Linked DNA regions of Homo sapiens: all the other regions are linked to region 1. Evidence: promoter capture Hi-C in 16 types of primary human blood cells and fetal thymus (Javierre and others, 2016). All regions are on one chromosome and are shown on one strand. The core of a region is centred on a gene start or on the middle of the fragment in contact, and the rest is flanking DNA. Distances in the headings are between cores, read along the strand shown. Region 1 holds the start of PLCH1 (phospholipase C eta 1). Region 2 has its middle 68 kb from the start of STRIT1. Region 3 has its middle 39 kb from the start of STRIT1.

Region 1 (3,342 bases), core at 794-3,293:
AGAAGGGCTGGGGGGAGCAGGAGTATTACATGGTATATATCCTGTTTTTGGTAGGTTTGAAATATCACACAATTTAAAAATTTAAAAGTTTACAAAATTATGGGAGTTGATTAAAACTATCAAAATAAAGAATGCATAGCAAACAAGTGCTCTTATTATGAACTTTGTGTCTGAGTTTATTTCAACATGTGCATCTGCATTTTTTCAGACTCAAGAAAGACAAACACCGGAGGTTAGGGGGTGAACTGCTGCTGTTGAGGGATTATCTTGGTGGTTTTTTTTTTTTTTTTTTTTTTTTTGGCTTTTCTATTCACCATGGAGGTTACCAGCAAAACAAATCTCCAACAAGCTTGTTTACAAAATATAAAGCAGTTTGGAGGCAGAGGGTTAATGACTTAATTTCTTATAAATTGAGGCTTGTGTATGGGCATGCAAAAAAACAAAAACAAAAACAAGTAAATTTGGGGAGGTTTCTTTCTATAGAGGCAAAGGACCTTACCTACATTTTTTCCAAATTGATTTCTTCCTGGTACTATTGGCAGGAAGAAATTCAAGTGGGTATTCTGGTGGCTTTTTTCTTTTTTCTGAGAGTCTAGGATTGTTTTCAGGACAAAGTTTCTTCTTGCCCATGGTGCTTTGCTGTGACATTGTAATTGCCTCTGTTGAATTGAATAATACAAATGGGTTGTTTCTATGGTATCGGCTAAGTGGGATGAAAAGGTGAAACCCTAGATCTTGCGCTGAGAGGTCACAGTGCTACCACCCTCCACACTGTCTGTCAAAGAGAACAGGCAGCCAAGGCCCTGAGCTCCAATCTCAGGCACTCATTTGTAACTTACTCGTTTGTAACTTCCTGGGCAAATTCACGCATGAAAAAAGAAAATGACTTTAGTTTATGTTGTCACTAAGCCCAGAAAATCCCTGCCAACCCCATGCTGCCAGCTTTCCTAGGACATTCTTATTGGAGGATTATTTTAAACTGAAAGGTGAGTGAAGAGCTGCGTCCCCACTCCTTCCCAGCCAGGCTTTGAACTAACAATAGGGCAGGTTGAATGAAGGCTGATAAATGTAAATCCTGGAATCCAGAAGCCGGATCACACCGCGGCCGTCTAGGCCAGCGGCGGTTCCAGCATCCGCCCCAAGCTGGTCACTCATCCTTTCAGTGCATTCAGTAGATTTCATCGTTTCATCAACACTTGAGTGCCTGCTTCGTGCAAGCTTTCCTCTGCCACCGCCGCCTTCTTACTCCCGGCAGGTTGCCCGCTTGAGTCAACCAGCCACTAAACGGATCTAAGTGAATAAGTGGCCTGTTAATGCCAAGGAGTAGCATTTCCAAATGAAGAGACTGGGGGTAAATAAAAGCAAAGTGTTACCATTTACACGCTCTCAATTTTAGTTGCACTTCACTCAGAGTAGATCTCTTTAATTTGCGGCATCGACAGATGCTATATTCTTAGAAATTTTTTTTTTTTAAAGGAGGTAAGACGGGCGTTTGAGAACACTTTTTACTTTGGTGCAAGTTGCACGCAGTTCCCATTCACTCAGAGTAGATCTCTTTAATTTGCGGCATCGACAGATGCTATATTCTTAGAAATTTTTTTTTTTTAAAGGAGGTAAGACGGACGTTTGAGAACACTTTTCACTTTGGTGCAAGTTGCACGCAGTTCCCATTCCCTGCGCCCTTCACTTCCAACTTTGTTTCTCCAACTCCTTTACCCCCCACCACCGAGGCCCTCTGGCTACAGCCCCGAGGGGTTACCCTGGGTTTCGAAACTTTTGAAACTTGCGGGGGAGTAAAAGTACTTCATTCCCAGTGCTTCTGGCCCTTGCCAAGCGGGGAGCCCCGCAGGAGAGTGTAAGCCAAGGGTTCCAGGTGCAGCCTTGGGGTTCCACGTGCAGCCCTAGGGTTCCGTACACCCATCCCGCCCGGGCCAGAGGAGGCAGCAGGCGCTCCAGTCCGCTCTCCGCAACTCCAGTTCCTGATTTCCTCGGAAGCTGCGGGGCCGAGAGGGAGGGGGGCTCCTGTGTGAGCGTGAGGATTTGAATGAGAAAGCAGGTTGTGGCGGCGGCGCCCTGCTCTTCCCCGCTCGTCTGGGGCTTCTGCTGGCTAGTGGGGAGAAGTGCTCTTCTAGGGGGGCTTTTCTGGCCCTTGGCAGGGGTTTGGAGTTGGAGTCACAGGGGCCAATAACTCATCACCCCAGCACTTCGGAGGTGGCTCCTTGTGCCACGGACTCCGAGGAGTCCTTCAGCTACTGAACACTCAAAGCTGAGGAGGTCAGTGCTTTCGGGGGAAGAAGGGGCCCAGGAGAGAAGGGGGTGTGCAGGAAAAAGAGAACTGGTACGCCAGTCCGATGAGCGAGTGAGCAGGTGGCCCAAGTTCCTTTCTCGGCAGCCACAGCCGGCACACGCCTGTTTAGGACTGTGAGTGCTGTGCGTGGGGATCCCCTAAGGCCCCGTGCGGGGAACTGGCCACGGCCGCTCTTCAGGGTCCCATAATTCAGAAGGATGAGGGTGGGTGTGTGTGTCCGCGAAATAATGTAACTCTCGGGTCCCTTGCGGTGGTGGTGGGTGGCGTTTCGCCCGGTGGAAGGTCCAGCCTCGCTGCAGGATGCTTCACCCTCACGCGGGGTCCCGGGACCCTCTCTCTGACCGCCAGACGCCGCCAGGAGAGCAGGTCCGCGTTTCCCAGCAAGGGGAGTGCAGCGTCCGTTACACTTGGGGAGTCTCACAGCTTTTCCTGCGCCCGGTGACCCTGCTCAGGACCTCTTAGAGACTAGGTGTGCTCAGCGCGAGGAGGATATACTCCATTGCCCTTTCCTGGGAAGAACCAAGAGCGCCCGAGCGGCGCGGGGTGGTGGAGGCAAACCCCGGCCCCGCGGCGGCACGCTCTGCGCCTGCGCGGCGTTTCCTTGGCGACTGAGCTGCGGGTCCGAGACGCCACCCCGCGAGCCCCTAAACCCAGTTCCCTGTTGAGCGTCTGCGACGCCCTCTCCCCTCCTTCCCGAGGCTTTTTCTATTTGTTTCCTTCTGCGAATCAATTTGTGATCACATTTTGACGTTGAGAGTTCAGCATTAAAGCAATAACCAACTAAATTAAAAAAAAAAACCCAACTTTTCCCTTCCCTTGTTACCGTTTTGATCACGGACAGAAGAAAATGGTGAGAGATTAGTTATTAGGGCAGCAATTGAAATCCCCCTCTGTCCCGAAAAGGGGAGACGAATAAAACATTTACTTCCTGGTAAGGAGTTAGAAAATTCAGTGAAGTGATTGTTCTCGAGCGTTACAAGAACAAATCTGTGCCTCCTAACCCAGGTGAAGAGCAGAGCTTGTACAACCCAGCA
Region 2 (3,528 bases), core at 287-2,786, 380 kb after region 1:
ATTGCTGGGCGAGGTGTCAGAGCCCTGGCATTGGAAAGTGGTTGACTTGTGGGTTGGTAAGAATTTACTGACAACGGTATGGGTTTGAAAACAGAAATATTTTTTAGAAAGAAGGAACGCTGCAGAAGAGTGCAGCGGGGGGCCTCAGCAAGAGAGGACTGAGCACAGCATGGTGGCTTTTTCTTTAGAGGTGTTTAGAGACCTTAAAGCGGAAGCTGAAGGGTAATTTGCATGATAAACGATTACATTTGTAGACATCTTGGTGCCTTAATGTCGGTAAGGATTGCACAATGAGTTTGGCAGTTCGGCATGCATGCATTCTGGAGGTGTATAGACATTCTAGTTTCCTGTAAATTTTAAGTTGAAAAGAGGCCTGGAACCAGGTGCTGACTTTAGATAATAGGGAAGTCTAATTACTTCTAAATTCCTCAAATAAGGAATTTTTCTTTTTGTCTCTTAATGGCCTGCTTGATGGTCACTAGGTGATCTTTGCTCTCCTTACTTATAAATGTTTCTTTTTACCTCCTGGGTTAAAGGACTTACATCTCTAAGGGACTGGTTCTCCGTCTGGGAATCAAACCTGGGCAGTGGATGTGAAAGCATGGAATCCTCGCCACTAGAATACAGGCTGGATTGCCCTTTTTGCATATCCCACAGGGAATCCAAAGCAGGCAGTGTGTGTATACACAGGGTTTTAACTTTGTTTTAAATCTGATTTCTGCCATTTTGGAATCTTGCCAATAGAATTTTAAAGGCTATATTTCTTTTGTATTTTTTCATAGATACCAATAAGATGGCTATTTAAGATAAGAGCTCTCTAAAAAGTTTTCTTTTAAATATAGTCCTTTTGTTTATTTCATAAGCGACTCAAGCCAACAGACATTTTTAATGGAAGGAACACCATGGACATAAGTGGCGTTTTAAAAATGGGTGCAGAAGATGCAGCATCATATGAAACCCTCAAAAATTTACTCCCAGAAATAAGTTAAATAACAAAAGACTCTCCTTCCACAGATGGTTAAGGATGATGTCTGTGCATATGTATGGTGCCTCTAGTATCCCACAAATTTGTGGGGGCTTGCCAGTCACAGGCTTGTTAATTTGTGACACTGGGTATACCCCCCTGGGATTGGACTTTCCCAGGCCTAATCAGGCAACAAGGATTGAGACAACAAAAGCCCCTCATGGGTGGGAATTCTTTCTTTTCTGAGACAGAGTCTCCCTCTGTCACCCAGGCTGGAGTGCAGTGGTGCAATCTCAGCTCACTGCAACCTCTGCCTCCTGGGTTCAAGCGATTCTCCTGCCTCTGCCTCCCAAGTAGCTGGGATTACAGGTGCATGCCACCACACCTGTCTAATTTTTGCATTTTTCATAGAGACAGGGTTTTGCCATGTTGGCCAGGCTGGTCTTGAACTCCTGATCTCAGGTGATCCACCCACCTAAGCCTCCCAAAGTGCTCGGATTACAGGCATGAGCCACTGCACCCAGCCTATGGATGGGAATTCTTATTAATACAAACTCCCCTGAGAGCTTGGCACATTCTGAACAAAGAGTGTGCTGCTTAATATCTTATGTGTCTAGAGATTCCCAGTCCTTTTGATATGGGGGGGTGCGGGCAGGGAAGTACTGGGTAGAGAAGTCTGGGTCCCTGGCCAGGGCTTCACCTCCAGCCTATGACCATGGGCCTAGATGAGGACAGGCATTTCTGTTTTCGTGCCCAAAAGTTGCATTTCCCAAGACCATCCTGGCCCACCATGTCCCCATCCTGTGCCTATAAAACCCCCAAGACCCTAACAGACATGCACACAAGCAGGTGGACGTCAAGAGGAACACACCAGTGGAAGAAGACACAAGTGGCTGGATATTGAGAGGAACGCACTGGTGAAAGAACACACCAACAGATGCCATCCAGCTGACAGGCCATCCACCAGTGCCGCAGAGTTTGGACAGGGCAGAAGGAGAGCCCAGCCACTGAGCAGCTTGACTCCAGGGCAAAACCATCTTCCTACTCCGTCTCCCTTCTAGCTCCCCCATTTACTGACTGCTATTTCCACTCAATAAAGTCTTGCATTGATTCTCCAAGCCCACGTGCGATCCAATTCTTCCAGTATGCCAAGGCAAGAAACCCCAGGATATGGAAAGCATTCTGTCCTTGCGATAAGGCAGGGGTTTAATTGAGCTGATCAACACAAGCCACCTATGGATGGCTAAACTGAAAGAGCACCCTGTAACACATGCCCACTGGGACTTCAGCGGTAAACATTCACCCCCAGCTGCTGCCATGGGGTCAGATCCCCATGATTGGCAAGTCTGCATACTCCTGCTAGAGGTTTGAGCAGTGGGGCACCAAAGAACTGAGCCACACACCCATCGCACACCATGCTAGGGGGATAAAGGAACTTTTCCTGTTTTACTTTCACATTGGCCACTGGCTGTGAATCAAAAGTTACACTCCTAGATGGTGGACACCAAAAGAGAGCGGTCCCATTCAGTCACAAGTTAAGGTCTCAAGGACATAATATTGGACAAGAGGTACTTTATGACAAATGACACAGAAAGACAGAGACAAAGGAAAAAAATAAAGACTATTTCTGGGAGGAAAGGATCAAACAATATGAATATTCATACCAAAACATACACCAGAGTCACTACACCTGAGACTAGTCTGTATAAATGATTTTCTCCTAATCTGGTTGTCCTGCCATGGTCACCAAAACTGTAGGATCCAAGGGAAAATTTCTCCTTCACCCTCTGAAGGTTTGCTGAAAATCAGCTGACAAAAGGGAAATGAATAGGAGAAAAGGCATGCGAAATTTATTAATATGTGCAAGAGTTGTACAAAATGTGAAAACTCAAAGAAAGAGCCAGATGGCTGACATTTTTATACCATTTTGAGGTTATAGTAAGAACAGGCATTTGGAGAATGGCAAGACAGGTTATGGGAGGTAGAGAGGAAGAAAGGCATGGGGCAAAGGTGGTATTATTAAGTGGATGAAAACCCACCTCTCAGAAAGAATAGACAGTGGTCTGTGATTGAGTTAATTTTTCCTAGATCCAGATAAGGGGGAGGGATTCAGAGAAAGCTAAGTTTTCTATATAATTAATGTAGATTTTTCTCTACGGATGCAAATCTTCTCCACAAAAGGCAGCTTTTCAGAGCTATTCCTGTCTGCAGGCCCTCTGAATAGCCTTCTCAAAATATTTCAAAGAAGTGTATTTTTAGGTAAAATATTTTTGATTTTCTTTACAAGTGTCTACCTGGAACACAAAAGCCAATTGTCGAAAACACTCTGTATTAGTGATGCAAAATTTCTGCAACAATACAGGATCATTGAAGGATGGATCTCAATGGATTTAAACAGAAAACATAATTGCTTTTAGTAGTGGCAAAAAATCAAAGCACTGTCACTACTCTCAGGGAGAGGGAAAATTGTATCCAGTCTTCTCCATTCATGGAGTTTAACTGCAGGATCACTTCATGTGTGCACATCGTTGGGATGTTTGTTGGGCAGACATTAGCTTGTAAGT
Region 3 (3,549 bases), core at 914-3,413, 410 kb after region 1:
GAACCAACATAAAAGCCTTATACCCTCAGCAGATAAAGATGATAATATTAGAAACTGAAGAGATTTGGGATTCTGAAAAACATCAATTGCTATTAGCTTGAGGGTAGCTCAGCTGCCTGGCTTCCAGGTTGCCAGTTAATATAAAAAAGATAGCATCTGCTGGATAATGAACACCTGTGACAATGATTGTGGTTCTCAGTCACTTGAAAAATAAATCATTTCAATGTGGGTCAGGTGTGGCCAGTGTCGAACTTCCATGGGCCAGATTATTTTCTGGTTCTGATGACATCCAGAATATCTGAAACTGTTCTTTCGAGGACTTATATGAGTGAGGCTACAACAGAGCTACTATCCACTTTCATCTTGTACCACCTACTGAACCAACCTACTGTCAGCTGCACCTAAGTGATTACCCACATGGCTGTAGGTTTGAGCTGAAATGGCATGGTGCTTGACAAGGGTGTCTGAGCTACCTGTTCAAGCACCTGCTTAGGGCCTCTGATCTTGTTCATTTCCTTTCCTTTATTTTTTTGAGCCAGAGTCTTGCTCTGTCACCCAGGCTGGAGTGCTGTGGTGCCATTTCAGCTCACTGCAGCCTCCGCCTCCCAGGTTCAAGTGATTCTCCTGCCTCAGCCTCCCAAGTAGCTGGGACTACAGGCATGTGCCATCATGCCCAGCTAATTTTTGTATTTTTAGTAGAGATGGGGTTTCACCATATTGGCCAAATTGGTCTTGAACTCCTGACCTCAAGTGATCCTCCCACCTCGGCCTCCCAAAGTGTTGAGATTATAGGCATGAGCCACTGCGCCCAGCCTTGTTCACTTTTAATGGCCCTCTGATCTTGTTTATTTTTATCTTTTGATGAATTGCTGCTGGGCGCACTGGACATTATGATTTGGTAGGTCTGATAGGATCAAGTTCATGCTGATACGTTTTGGATGCATGGGTGCTTGGTGTCCCATGGCCAAGAAATACTTCTCTTCTGGAGTTCAAGAACAAAGCAGGAGTTGTTTTTCAAAAGGTGTCTAATAATTCACTGCATATGGCCCGGCCCAGCTCCAGACCCTCAGTGCTTTACTGTCATTCTTCACTGGAGCTTACCACACATTACACATAGCATCTTTCTCGCTACTAGAATCTTGAACACTATAAGGATTTCTGGCTGAAGGCCCAAGTGTCAGGGCTACTTGCACCGCCACAGCCTGGAGCTCTTGCAGAGCTTTCTTCTTCCCCTGGCCTCACTCAAGTTCAGCAGCCTTTTGTGTCACCTGGTAGATAGGCTAGAGGAGTATTTTCAGGTGTGGAATATTCCACATTCAGAACTTTAGGGCATTGAGCTCCTTACTTCAGGATAGAAGGTGTGAGATGCAATAACTTGTCTTTTATTTGAAGATCTACTGGCATGCCCCTCACCACTGGACCCCCAAATGTTTTCTGATGTAGCCCTTTGAATCTTCATAAGTCTTATCTTCAACTCTCTTTAGTGCATGAGTCTTACTAAGACCTCCAGCCTGCTAGACTTCTTACTCATCCGGATAAATTAGCATAATGACATGTATGCAATGCGTCACTGTGATTCTCTGTTGGATGTCCAGGTGGTCCAGATGTCTTTGTAATATATTCCAGCCAGAAACACGGGAGTTAACGCAGCTCTGGGGCAAATTGTAAAAGTATAGTGCTGCCTGTTTCATGTGACTGCAAACTATTTTTGACACACTTTTCTGACTAGAATAGAAAAAAAAAACATATTTTACAAGTCAGTGGCTGCATACCTTTGTACCTGAGGCTGTATTAATCTGCTCTAGAAAAACACCATGCCTGGCACAGCAGATGCAACTGGGGCTACTACATGATTGTGTTTTCAATAGTCTATTCTAGAATCCATCTGGTTTCTTCAGGGACCACACTGGAAAATTAAATGAAGATAACACAAAGACTACCACCCCTGAATCCTTTAGATCCTTAAGGGTAGCATTGACTTTTGCCATCCCTCTGCCCTTAGTATATGATGTAACGTTTTTTAATTTGAGGGGAGCAGTTTCAGAGGCTTCAATCTGACCTTCCCCACCATGACACCCCTTACTCCACATGCCAAGGACGCAATGTTGACATTATAACCACTGACTATGAAATTGACTAAATACTCCTATCTCAGTTATAAATTCAGGGGCCGGGTAAATGCTCAGTTGGTGGGTTCCCAGACAAAATGGACTCTATGTATTTCTCATATCTCCTTCCCCTAAGGGAAGGCACCTCAGATCTTTGAGCATCAATCTCAACTAAGATTCTGTATCTAACAGTCCCTTTTGTTTAATCTGGGGAGAGGACACAGCCTGTGAACAGTTGTCTACCAGGAAATGCCTCACATAAAACAACAAAACAAAAATAAATAAATTATCACAAATTAAGAATATAGAGCAAATATCAACAGAATGGTACTGGCCAGGTGCGGTGGCTCATGCCTGTAATCCCAACACTTTGGGAGGCTGAGGCAGGCAGATCGCAAGGTTAGGAGTTCGAGACTAGCCTGGCCAATATGGTCAAACCCTGTCTCTACTAAAAATACAAAAATTAGCTGGGCGTGGTGGCAGGCCTGTAGTCCCAGCTACTTGGGAGGCTGAGGCAGGAGAATCACTTGAACCCAGGAGGGGGAGGTTGCAGTGAGCTGAGATGACGCCACTGCACTCCAGCCTGGGTGACAGAGTGAGACTCCGTCTCAAAAAAAAAAAAAAAGAAAAGAAAAAAAAGAGAATGGTACTGATGGTACTGATAGAGATGGGTACAAGAACTGGAAGGAGAACATCAGAGCTGAAGACTATTACCCTAAAATCTACATAAATACAGCATATTCCTGAAGTGGATTCTTTGAGGATTTACATGTAAAAAGAAATCTACTAATAATTAATAGTAGTACATTATTATTTTTATTTCTGAAACAAACAGTCCCAAGCTCCCTATCAAAAGAATCCCAGGTATTTCCATCAAAACAAACAAATAACTTATTGGAACTTAGCAATCTTGAATTGACAAGCACAGATCCAGGGGAATATGGCTATGAGCAGATGACAAGAAGGTATCATCTGTAGGGTTACTTTCATCCTTAAGCGTGTTACCCTTGACTGTTTTAATAAATATTTCCATGTAAGTTACAGAGCTTTGTGCTGTCTGGTTGGGACTTAAATTGGCTCTCTGAAAATGGAATATATGCCAATTCTCAGTGTTCTCATGGCTTACAAGTGAAACAGATGAACAATATTATGTGTCATGTTGATTTCTGTTTGATAATGATAAATGTTGGTGTTTCCTCAAAAATTAATTTGCTCCATATGTTGGTTTCTGAAAGACTGAAATAGTGGATCACTTTTGGAAATGGCATCGATAGCATTTTCTAATCTTCATATTGATTACCACCTTTGGTTGATATATATTACTAATGTTTGTATACACATGTGTATACATTATACATTTCAAGATCTATGTGCAGAATAAAAAGCCCATGTTTATTTTCAAATATACTGCTTTCATGACTCTCATGACTCTCCGCTCTGG

What was found. The method cuts DNA at HindIII sites, captures the fragments that hold promoters and counts their contacts. A CHiCAGO score of 5 or more calls a contact.
Region 2: a fragment that was not itself captured here is called in contact with the fragment with the promoter of PLCH1 in region 1 in 1 of 17 cell types (megakaryocytes); the score reaches 10.0 in megakaryocytes.
Region 3: a contact is called between a fragment that was not itself captured here and the fragment with the promoter of PLCH1 in region 1, in 2 of 17 cell types (megakaryocytes and fetal thymus). The highest score is 6.0, in megakaryocytes.

What each region holds. Positions count from the first base shown.
Region 1 is chr3:155,743,772-155,747,113 of GRCh38, reverse strand. It overlaps PLCH1 (phospholipase C eta 1), which reads left to right and starts at 2,043. Exons shown (of 23, transcript NM_014996.4): 1 at 2,043-2,274. RefSeq lists enhancers at 2,081-2,290, 2,185-2,806. The HindIII fragment of the contact is 4,475 bases long and covers 1,221-3,342 here.
Region 2 is chr3:155,360,196-155,363,723 of GRCh38, reverse strand. No RefSeq gene overlaps it. Among named protein-coding and RNA genes, the nearest start is that of STRIT1, 68 kb to the right of the region's middle. RefSeq lists enhancers at 1-245, 246-924. The HindIII fragment of the contact is 6,745 bases long and covers 1-3,528 here.
Region 3 is chr3:155,330,955-155,334,503 of GRCh38, reverse strand. No RefSeq gene overlaps it. Among named protein-coding and RNA genes, the nearest start is that of STRIT1, 39 kb to the right of the region's middle. The HindIII fragment of the contact is 8,170 bases long and covers 1-3,549 here.